2 separate regions of the Homo sapiens genome follow, and region 1 is linked to region 2. Evidence: promoter capture Hi-C in 16 types of primary human blood cells and fetal thymus (Javierre and others, 2016). All regions are on one chromosome and are shown on one strand. Each heading gives the region's core, a stretch centred on a gene start or on the middle of the fragment in contact. The rest is flanking DNA. Distances are from core to core; before and after follow the strand shown.

Region 1 (5,758 bases), core at 1,239-3,738, 400 kb before region 2:
ACTAGAGTCCAAAAATATTAAATGGAAAATTCCAGAAATAAGCAATTTTAAATTGTTTTTGTTTTTTGGTTTTGGTTTTTTTGAGACAGAGTCTTGCTCTGTCACCCAGGCTGGAGTGCAATGGCACTGTTACCAGGGGTCCTTGCTCCCAGAGCTCCCAAGATGGCAGCGGGCTGCTTCCAAGCTTGTGGCAAGTCTCACGTTCTCTGACCTGGGGTTCTTGGCCTCACGGATTCCAAGGAGTGGAATCTTGGGCCATGCAGTGAGTGTTATAGCTGTATTAGAAGCCGTGGGTCACGGAAGAGAACCTTGGAACCCAGTGACTAGTGTTCAGCTCAATTAGGATGAACCCGGGCACTTAGCTGTGCAGGAACAATGGCAAGCCTTTAGCCCAGTCGGGAAGAGCAGTGGGCGCCTCGCTGGATCAGGAGCACAGCAGACACCCTGCCGGATCCGGAGGGATGGAAGTCAGCGGCAGGTCTGCGATGGTGGCAAACAGCAGTGGTGGATGGGGAATGAAAGCTCAGCTCGAGCCGTAACAAACACGGACCAGAAAAGAGTGCAGTTGCAAGATTTAATAGAGTGAAAACAGAGCTCCCATACAAAGGGAGGGGACCCAAAGAGGGTAGCTGTTGCTGGCTTGAATGCCTGAGTTTATATCCTGATCATTGTCCCTCCCGCTGTGCTCTCAGGCAATAGATGATTGGCTATTTCTTTACCTCCTGTTTTTGCCTAATTAGCTTTTTAGTGAGCTCTCTTTACTACCTGATTGGTCGGGTGTGAGCTAAGTTGCAAGCCCCGTGTTTAAAGGTGGATGCAGTCACCTTCCCAGCTAGGCTCAGGGATTCTTAGTCAGCCTAGAAAATCCAGCTAGTCCTGTCTCTCAGCACGATCTCAGCTCACTGCAACCTCCGCCTCCCGGGTTCAAGTGATTCTCCTGCCTCAGCCTCCCAAGTAGCTGGGACTATAGGTGTGTACCACCATGCCTGGCTAATTTTTGTATTTTTAGTAAAGATGAGGTTTCACCATGTTGGCCAGTCTGGTCTCAATCTCCTGACCTCAGGTGATCCTCCTGCCTCGGCCTCCCAAAGTACTGGGATTACAGGCATTAGCCACTGTATCCAGCCACAATTACAAGTTTTAAATTGGATGCTTTTCTGATTGGTGTGATGAAGTCTCCAGCCATCCTGCTCCATCCTGCCCAGGATGGGAGTTATTCCTTTGTCTAGGATATGCAGCTGTTTATGCCACTGGTCCATTAGTCATTTAGTAGCTGTCTTGGTTATCAGATCAACTGTGGTGGTTTTGAAGTGCTTGTGTTCAAGTTACCTTTATTTTATTTAATAATGGCTCCAAAGCGCAAGAGTGGTGATGCTAGCACATTGTTATAATTGTTGGATTTTATTATTAGTTGTTGTTAATCTCTTATTGTGCCTAATTTATAAAGTAAGCTTTATCATAAATATGTATATATTGCAAAAACATTATAAGGTTCAATACTATTTAAGGCTTCAGGCATCCAGTGGGGGTCTTGGAATGTATCCCCCACAGATAAGGGGGGACTACTGTATATTAATTACAAGGTGCCCGTGGAGAATAGATTCAAATAAAAATCTAATAAGAGCCATTGATAAAAGGAAGGAAAACAACCAAGAGAATGTAAAAAGTAGTTTAAATTCAATACAGGCAAAAGAAGACCTAACATACTTAAAATTGGAGTCCCTAAAGAAGAAAAGCAAATCACTAGAACAGAACTAATTAAACCATAACTCAACACTTTTCAGAAATAATAGGAAATTTCAAATTTTACATATTAAAAGGCCCCATCATGGACAGATTAATACAGAACAGCTCTGAGTCATAGCCTAGTAAAACTATTAGATTTTAAAGACTTTTTTCCTGGGCCTCTTGAGAGGGGAAAAAAGATTATATTATTAATAAAATCAGGCTGACATCAGATTCCTTAAGAACAATATATTTTTTTTTGGTCTCACTCTGTCACCCAGGCTGGAGTGCAGGGGCATGATCTTGGCTCACTGCAACCTCCGCCTCCCAGGTTCAAGTAATTCTCATGCCTCAGCCTCCTGTAGCTGGGATTATAGGCATGCACCACCATGCCCAGCTAATTTTTATATTTTTAGTAGAGCTGGGGTTTTGCTGTGTTGGCTAGGCTGGTCTTGAACTCCTGGCCTCAAGTGATCCACCTGGCTCGGCCTCTCAGAATGCTGGGATTACAGGCATGAGTCACTGCACCTGGCCTAGAACAATATTCAAAGGAAGGCTACAGTAGAGCACCATTTTTAAAAACTCAAAGAAATAAAGCACAAGCTAGCCAACCTGTCTTTAGAGTATCAGATAAACAGTTTGAACACACAAGAATTTAGGAAATATGTGGTGATAATTTACTATATTTAAATGTAGATCCAAGACTTAAAACAGTGTTGGGGACATAGATGTAATTTTTATATGTTCTGACAAAGTAAAAAGAATAAAACTAAAAATAAGTGGGTGAACAAAGAATTAAGATTATTCTCCACAATATAGGTAATAAGTGAGAGTCATACAATACCTTTTAAATGGATTGACCAGATAATAAAAGGTAAAGTAGGCAAAAAGTCGATTTGGGTTACTCTAAAACACACACACATACACACACACCACCACCACCACCACCACAGGAGAGAGAGAGAGAGAACCACTGGAACAAAAAATTAAAATTTTCCTAACTACCAAAAGAAAGTACAAAAAATAAAAAAATAGCAGAAATACCACATAAAGGAAAAAAAAGAATACGTATGAATAACAAACATGGTAACTATAAAGATAGAGTTGAGTTCAAATATGTCAATCATATTAGTAAACATAAATGGGCTTAACTCATCTATTAAAATAAAAAGGTGTTCAAATGGCTTTATAAAGCAAAACCCAATTCTATGCCTTACACAAGAGACATATAAAACAGTGATTCCAACCATCAAAAATAAAGGAATGTATATGATATTACAGGCAAATGGAAAAAATAAGAAATCAGGAGTTTCCATTTTGCTGAACAAAGTAGAATCCAGGCAAAAACTATTCAGTATGACAGAGTATATTTATAATGGTTAAAGCCATAATTCACAATGAAGTTATAATATTTTTTAGTATCTAGGTACCAAATGACACAGCAAACACCTAAATATACCAGAATCACTATAGCAGAATATAGGAGAATGCAAGTAGCAATAGAAACACATAATAGAAAATTTTAAATACATCACAGTACAAATCTGGTATGACAAGATGTCTCAAGATCATCTAGTATATTTCTTGTCTCAAACCTGAAGTTAGCCATTTTTTTCAAGGACTCTTGGTTTCTTTTAATGGGAAATGATATTTATAGTTCACAATCTTTATATTAGGAGTGTTCACTTATACTGGGTTTGTCTTCAGTTCTAGGCCTTTACTAGGACATTTTTACAAAGAGAAAATACATCACTAGTCCATACTGAAGTTTTTAATTAAAATTTATGATTACAAGCTTTTTTATTTATTTGATTTTTATATTTGTATCTCTTTTGTCTTATGCTTAAAATCTAGGTTCCTAATGATATTAATAAAATTAATACATTCATCTTAACCTACAGTTTCAAATTAGTAATACAAATAGTATTACTAACAATATGGTTATTGCAAAAGGTTTAAGATGTTTGCAGTTCTTTTTCTCCATATTTTATTTCCAAATATGTATGTACAAATGACGGAGTTTTAAATTCACTTGAAATAATTTCTCTTTATATGATTAAACCACCAGCATTCTACATAATTAGATCCATTTGTTTCATTTTGCTTTTTACTTTTAGGGTTTTGTTATTTTTATTTTATTTTTGCTTTATTAAAAAATTGTTTTAAAGAATTCAAGATAGTTTAGCTGACAGTTGTAGTTTATTTTAAATAACAACTAAAAGTCTTGGGTTTCTAGGAATAGTGTTTCATCAAAAGTTAGCCAAGAAAGTTTTTCTTGATTTTTTTTCCCTAAAGTAGATGAAATATTTACTAATATAATAGTTTCATTTATCCTGTATATGTACTAGAAGCCTCTAGTCTCCAAGGCAGCTCTAAAAAGTGCCACACACTACTACCACACACACTATTTCTAAACACTAGTCTGGATTTTATATTAATATTTTCTAAGACATTGGAACTATCATCAGAGCCTTGCATGAAACTCGTTTTAACAAACCCTTAGCCTACTAATTTTGGTTATTCAGAGTCTCAATTATATACATAGCTGCTCATCTATCTTTCTAGTGCTAAAGTGATTTTTAGGCATAATAATTTAATATAAGTAAAAGTATGTGCCATAGAATATGATACACTCTGGCTCAAAATCTGGATTTTACAACTTTAAATGGGCCAGGCGCAGCAGCTCATACCTGTAATCCTAGCACTTTGGGAGGCCAAGGTGGTCACATCTCTTGAGCCCAGGAGTTTGAGACCAGTCAGACCAGTCTGGGCAACACGGCAAAACCACATCTCTACCAGAATAATATAAAAATTAGCCTGGAAGGTCAAGGCTGCAGTGAGCTGTGGTCACACTACTGCACTCTATCCTGGGCAACAGAGCAAGATAAATATCTCAAAATAAATAAACATAAATAAAAGTTTAGATGATTGTATTGGGTCATGAAAATCTGTTTTTGTGACAGCAGTAGCAAAATATAAGATTGTAGATACTGTGTCTCTTTTGGGGAAGTTGAATCTTAAAATGTGTATAATTCTGTGATTTCTCTTTTTCAGAGGCTGATAAAATACCAGTAATGCGTGGACAGTGGTTTATTGACGGCACTTGGCAGCCTCTAGAAGAGGAAGAAAGTAATTTAATTGAGCAAGAACATCTCAATTGTTTTAGGGGCCAGCAGATGCAGGAAAATTTCGATATTGAAGTGTCAAAATCCATAGATGGAAAAGATGGTAAGATCAATTGATACATTTAATATATTCTACAAACCAAGTAAGTTGTTGATAAAGTTTAGAGTGGTTTGTAAATTTGACATAATAATTCAGGAGGTTTAGAATTAGAAAATTTGATTTTTTTAAACATTTGATTATTCTAGAATTTAAAAATTAACTACTATAAATATCTGAACTATCTCAATTTTTATTTTAATATGTATGGTAAGTGTCATGATATTAACACAGTTTACTATAAATGTACAGATTGTTACAATGCACTCCCTATTTAATCTTTTTTAGTAATTTTTTAGTTATCAAAGGAAATTGAACTTAACCCAAAAATTCCTTGTTGTTATATCAAGACAAGTTTCATTAATATTTCAATGTTCTTTTCCTGAAGTTCAAAAAAAAAATCTTTAATTATCTTTGTGTATCTCTTAGTTATCCCCTATTGAAAACCATATCAAGTTTTAATTTGAAACAATCTACTCATTACATTTCTTTATTCAGCACTTGCATATTTTTGTAACAGTTCAAAATACTGTATAGTAGCTAAGATTGCCACATTTTCATTGTGTGTCTAAATCTTGAGTAAACTTCAAAATATGTGGTAAAGTTAAAAATACTTCTATTGTTCCATTTACTGCAGGCAGTGGGATCAACTATTCTGGTGAGTATAACTGTACAGGTAGATTAGAATTTGTAGATTTGTCTGAAGTTTTTCTTCTAAAACCGTTTCTTCATCCATGCTAGTCTTTATTTGGGAGGTTTCTTGGCAAGCTCTACTGAATCTAATGAATTAAAATATTAATTGATTTTTTCC
Region 2 (5,770 bases), core at 1,552-4,051:
GAAAAAACGGCTAAGAAGTGAGGTTACTTGAAAAAATAAGAGGAGAAATCAATATGAAGCTATTTCAATGTTTACATCTATAGGAAATACAGGCTGAGTATTCTTAATCTGAAAATCCAAAATGCTCCACAATGTGAAATTTTTTGAATGCTGACATGATGCTCAAAGAAAATGCTCATCGGAGCATTTCAAACTTTTGATTTTTTTTAATTAGGGATGCTCAACCAGTACAACACAAATATTCTAAAACCTGAAAAAAAAAAAGCCAAAATCTAAAACACATTTCTGGCTCAAGCATTTTGGATAAGGGATACTCAACTTATATATACTTCGGCTTTTCTAATGTTTTTTAGTCTTCAAATACAGTCTTGTCCTCATGCAACCTGAAATATCTTAGAAATGCCAACTTTCGGCATCCACAGAGCCCTGAAAGGGACATGAAAATCCCTTGTCAGTTTAGGTATCTAATATTTTGACTTAGAAAATGTCAACCGCTTATATACTAGGCAAAATCCTAATAGGAGATTTATAGTTCCTGGATTAAATTCTCCCTTACAGCCATGTTCTGTGAATGTTTTAAAACCTGAACCTGAAATGACAATTAAACAGAGAAAACTCTTCCAATGAATTTAAAAGAATTATCTAAGGACACTTCCTAAAGAATAATACATAAATTGATTTCAGACACTACTGAATGACTTGAGGTCATTTGTTGGCATCTTTGATAACTGTAAAATAAAATTTAGAATTATTTCAACTTGCCCTACCCTAATCTAAATGACCTCATACAAAATTAACTTAGGCCATGGTACAGTCCATAAGTAACAGTTCTGAATGTCTAAATATAAACACAGGTAACTGATGATATCTAACACTTTTAAGTCCTCTTTAAAAATGACATTAAAATAAAATGTCTGTTTTCCAGTTCTAAAATACTTTTATTTCTAAGTGGCTATTAACAGATCTGACTGAGACAATGTAATACAGTAGAAAGTACGGAATGCCAGGAGTCAAAGCCCATGGTTTGAATTCAGGCTTTGTTAATAACTAGCTATGTCTGAACAAATCATCCTTGTGAGTTATGGGCATAAATGCTCCACCTGCTTGCCTCAAGAATTAGAGACAATAACTTACATGAAACTGCTTTGTCAATCATCAGGCACTATACAAATATAAAGTATTACCTGTCGACGACAACCCACAACATATCTTGGTCCATTGGTAGCTTTAACAATGACTAGAAGAAAAAACATAAAAGAACTAATTGAAAAATAGAAAGTAAAAAAATACATACCCACGTTGACAGAGGGTTTAGTTGTATTTCTGTCCTCCAAGGAGACATTAGTTGAAGGAAAACTTAAGTCTATTCAAAAATACTCTCTCTCTCTGCATTATTGTCATTAAAATAATAAGCATTTCAAAAGTGAGAGAGAGGTGGACTGTTTCTTTACTAATTAATAAGCTAATTCATCACTCACATTTTTCTTCAGTTAACTGTTTAAGCACTTCACCCACGATCTAAGGAAGAAAATAAAAAGCATTACTTTTTGGCAACAGCTAAATAAAAAAGCAAATTACCATCACCCCCTATTCCCCAAACTCCATCACCTACCTGCCCAACACTCTGTAGGGCCTTCAGATCATTTTCAGACTTTTCATACTGCTTGGTAAGTTCTTTTAATTGTTCCCTTACTGAAATAATACAATTTGAACATTTTTAATTGAACAGTAATCTTAGTGTGTTTAAGTCGCTACGTCTCACTTTACTGTTTACGTAAGTCTACTTCACTTTACCTAAGTTTCACATCCACTGTTTCAAACCATAAAAGAAATAATGCTGTTTGTAATGAGTAGGTGGCATGTATAACAACAAAATGTTACAGAGAAAGCACCATACTTTTACTTTGTTGATCGGCAATACTTGTTTAAGCACATCTTAAGTTATAGTCTTAGAAGATATTGACACCCTGACACTTAGGATTTGCGACTACAAATCCGAATGATAATCACTTAGACCCTTCCTCACCTCTTCACCTACCCACGTGGATTGTTCTCTGACATTCTACCCTAAATAAAGTCAACAAATGCAGTTCTCCACAGAATCATGTAATTATGGTCCTCCATTTAATTAAACTACTCATGCTTTTCAATGAAAATGCACTGGAAAAAAAAGTTAAGCACTCAGGAGGTAAGGGAAATTTGTATGCCTGATACAGTACAACACGAAACACAAGACGATATGGGTTATTATGACAACTGGAACACTTCTCTCTTAAGCTCCGCGGCCGTCTTTCGACTCCAAGAACAAGCCGACTCCCTGAGTCTCATCTCTTGTTTGAGCTTACTTGACTCAAGCGCCTTCCCCTCTCCAAGTCCCGGGACTCCACCAAGACTGCCCTTCTTGCACCCTAACCTGGGAAACATCCTCGGCCCACTTCCCCACTCCTCCTCTACTTCTTTTTCATTTTCACCTCAAGGCCGCCGATGTTCTGTCACCCGGGCTGGACTGGGCCATTTCTACACCCGAAGGAGTGCTGCTCCACAAGCTCAGGGCCGGATGACAAAGCGCCTTGTCCCTGGCCCTAGGCCTGGTCATCTCTAAGGCTCGGTTGCCGGGCTCGGCGAAAGGCTTCTGCTTTGTCAGAGGCAGAAGCGAGTCGAGGCACTTGATTAAATGGAAAGAAAGGTGCACTCACACTCCTTAAGACGGCCGTCGATCTCCTTGTGTTCAAGCAACTTCTTGCGGTAGTCCTGAAGCGCCTTATCTCTAGGGTCCGCCATGATGAGAAGCCGTCTCTCATAGGGGATGCCGGGAATGGCCATGGCCGTCCGGGCGGGGGAAGGGGCGGGGCGAGGGGCGAAACCCTGCCTGGAGGGGTGGGTTCGCCCATGAGCCCTCCCCTTCCGGTTGGCCCCGTCTTTCTACTCCACTTCCACCTCTATGTCTCGGTTCACCTAGAGCGCCGGCATACACTGAAAGAGGCCTCCACCTATACCGTTTCTTGCAAGCCGAGATAGGTAAAGCAGGACTCAGTTATCCCGGTCTTCCCCTGAGAGGCCTCAGTATTAAGTCACTGCTGTCCCGGAAGTATAAAAGGCTCTGTAATAAACTGAGATGGAAGTGAAGTAGGAAATGTGTAATACCTCAAAGGAGTTCCGATGGCCTGTCGACACAACACAGATGGCCTTTGTTATAACACAGTACTGTCCAAGACCTCCACGTGCTGGAGAAGTAGACAGTTTTATTCATCCATTCAGTCAGTGAATGAGGTATTAAAGGTAGATCTGCTTATCATTTGATAGGAAATAATAATAAAAAAAACTTCAGAGTTTAACAAATACTGTGAAGGAATTAAAACACGGTGAGAAGTATGGTGGGAAGAATTAATCTAGAACAGATATCTGAGATGAGAAGGAGCCAGCCTTGCAACAACTGAAGAAAACCTAAACAAACAGTGCAAGTCCTGGAGTGGAGTGGGGTGGGGGTTGTGGGTAGAAAGCTTGACTCACTTCCAGGAACAGAAAGGAGGCCAATGAGACCAGTAGGGGGTGGGTTGTAGAGATGTGGGGTACAAGATAAAGATGCTGAAGTAGGCTGAGGCAGGAACTTTGAAGTCTGATAGAACCTTCAGATTTATGTATTTATTTATTTACTTTTGAGATGGAGTCTTGCTCCTGCCGCACAGGCTGGAGCGGTGACGCGATCTCAGCTCACTGCAACCTCCACCTCCCGGGTTCAAGCAATTCTCCTTCCTCAGCCTCCGGAGTAGCTGGCATTACAGGTGTGCGCCACCACAACCGGCTAATTTTTGTATTTTTAGTAGAGACGGGGTTTCGCCATGTTGGCCATGCTGGTCTCGAACTGCTGACTTCAGGTGATCCACCCTCCTCAGCCTCCCAAAGTGCTAGGATTACAGGTGTGAGGCACTGCGCCCGGCCAGATTTTTTTTTTTTTTTTTTTTTTTTTGAGTCTGTGTCTCACTCTGTCACCCAGGCTGCAGTGTAGTGGTGCGATCTTGGCTCACTGCAACCTCTGCCTCCCGGGTTCAAGCGATTGTCGTGCCTCACCCTCCTGAGAAGCTGGGATTACAGGCGCCCGCCACCACGCCCGGCTCATTTTTGTATTTTCAGTAGGAATGGGGTTTCACCATGTTGGCCAGGCTGGTCTCCAACTACTGACCTCAAGTGATCCGCCCGCCTCAGCCTCCCAAAGTGTTGGGATTACAGGCGTGAGCCACGACGCCTGGCCAACTTTCAGATTTTTGTGATTTGGGGAAAATTACATACTCCCTCAATATCTCTGTAAAATGATCATAATAATTGCACTTATCTAATGGGGTTGTCATGAGTATTAAATAGGATAATGTGCCTAAACACAACATCTGCCACATGGCATGTACTCAATAGTGTTCTTTTGAATAGATATTTATTTTAAGGGTAGTAATGACTCCAATTTTTGCATTACAGGTCCTCATTGCTATACCTCTTGCTATCATTGTTCCTGGGGACAATTAATTGTTGTCCAAAAAACATGAGTAAAATTCTCCAAATAGATTCCATTTGGTCTCACCTTATCCAATGGCCATGAATGTTTGAGTTTAAATATATACATCCTAAATATACAAATAAAGTACAAATTTTTGTAAATTAATGACCCAAAGTCACATAAAGGATGCCTTCAAATTTATTAGGAACAATTCTCATGGGTATTGTGTGAATATTCCATTCTATTTTTCTTTTTTTTTTTTTTTTTTTTTTTTTTTTTTGAGTTGGAGTCTTGCTCTGTCGCCAGGCTGGAGTGCAGTGGCGCGATCTCGGCTCACTGCAACCTCCACCTCCCGGGTTCAAGTGATTCTCCTGCCTCAGCCTCCCGAACAGCTGGGATTACAGGCGCACACCACCACGCCCAGCTAATTTTTGTATTTTTAGTAGAGACAGGGTTTCACCATGTTGGTCAGGCTGGTCTCGATCTCCTGACCTCGTGATCCGCCCGCCTCGGCCTCCCAAAGTGCTGGGATTACAGGCATGAGCCACCGCGTTCGGCCAATTTTTCTAAATGTGACTGGGTTCTTGCAGTATACAATGAACAAGGAAGCTGTATGGGGCAGGGATAGTCCCTTCTCCCACTCAGTTGCAACTACTCTGGTCAAACTAGTCCATCCATACCAAAACATGTCACCTCTGACATCAAGAAGTAAAGAAGAGAGGACAAGGCAGAGAAAGAAAGCTCAGTATGGCTCAATTTAAAATATTTATGAGCACATACTGATAGGTTATTTTAACATTAATCACATCAATATTTTAAAGTCCCTTAACCCTTGTTCTTTTTCTTTTACCCATCTGGCAGCATTTCAACTTCAGAAGAATCTTCTATTTTCCCCATGCCTACACTAGCCCTGTTACTTTTTTGTTTGTTTGTTTGTTTTTTGTTTTGAGCAGGAGTCTCGCTCTGTCGCCCAGGCTGGAGTGCAGTGGTGCGATCTCGGCTTGCTGCAACCTCCGCCTCCCGGGATCAAGGGATTCTCCTGCTTCAGCTTCCAGAGTAGCTGGGACTACAGGTATGCGCCACCACACCCGACTAATTTTTGTATTTTTGGTAGAGATGGGGTTTCACCATGTTGGTCAGGCTGGTCTTAAATTCCTGAGCTCAGGTGATCCACCCGCCTTAGCCTCCCAAAGTGCTGGGATTACAGGTGTGAGCCACCGCGCCTGGCCGTTACGTTTTTATACATGCCTATAAGACTGTATTCCTCTCCATCTGAAAACGTAG

What was found. Contacts are between HindIII fragments. The CHiCAGO score rates a contact against its expected background, and 5 or more counts as called.
Region 1: a contact is called between a fragment that was not itself captured here and the fragment with the promoter of PSMC6 in region 2, in 1 of 17 cell types (non-activated CD4 T cells). The highest score is 5.2, in non-activated CD4 T cells.

The regions. Positions count from the first base shown.
Region 1 is chr14:53,102,878-53,108,635 of GRCh38, reverse strand. DDHD1 (DDHD domain containing 1) reads left to right here. Exons shown (of 13, transcript NM_001160148.2): 2 at 4,780-4,953. Among named protein-coding and RNA genes, the nearest start is that of DDHD1, 48 kb to the left of the region's middle. The HindIII fragment of the contact is 2,069 bases long and covers 1,454-3,522 here.
Region 2 is chr14:52,704,231-52,710,000 of GRCh38, reverse strand. It overlaps PSMC6 (proteasome 26S subunit, ATPase 6), which reads right to left and starts at 2,801. Exons shown (of 14, transcript NM_002806.5): 1 at 2,697-2,801; 2 at 1,613-1,692; 3 at 1,479-1,518; 4 at 1,185-1,237. The coding sequence starts at 2,781. RefSeq lists enhancers at 2,441-2,490, 2,511-2,760, 3,061-3,120, 3,141-3,250. The HindIII fragment of the contact is 4,351 bases long and covers 1-3,502 here.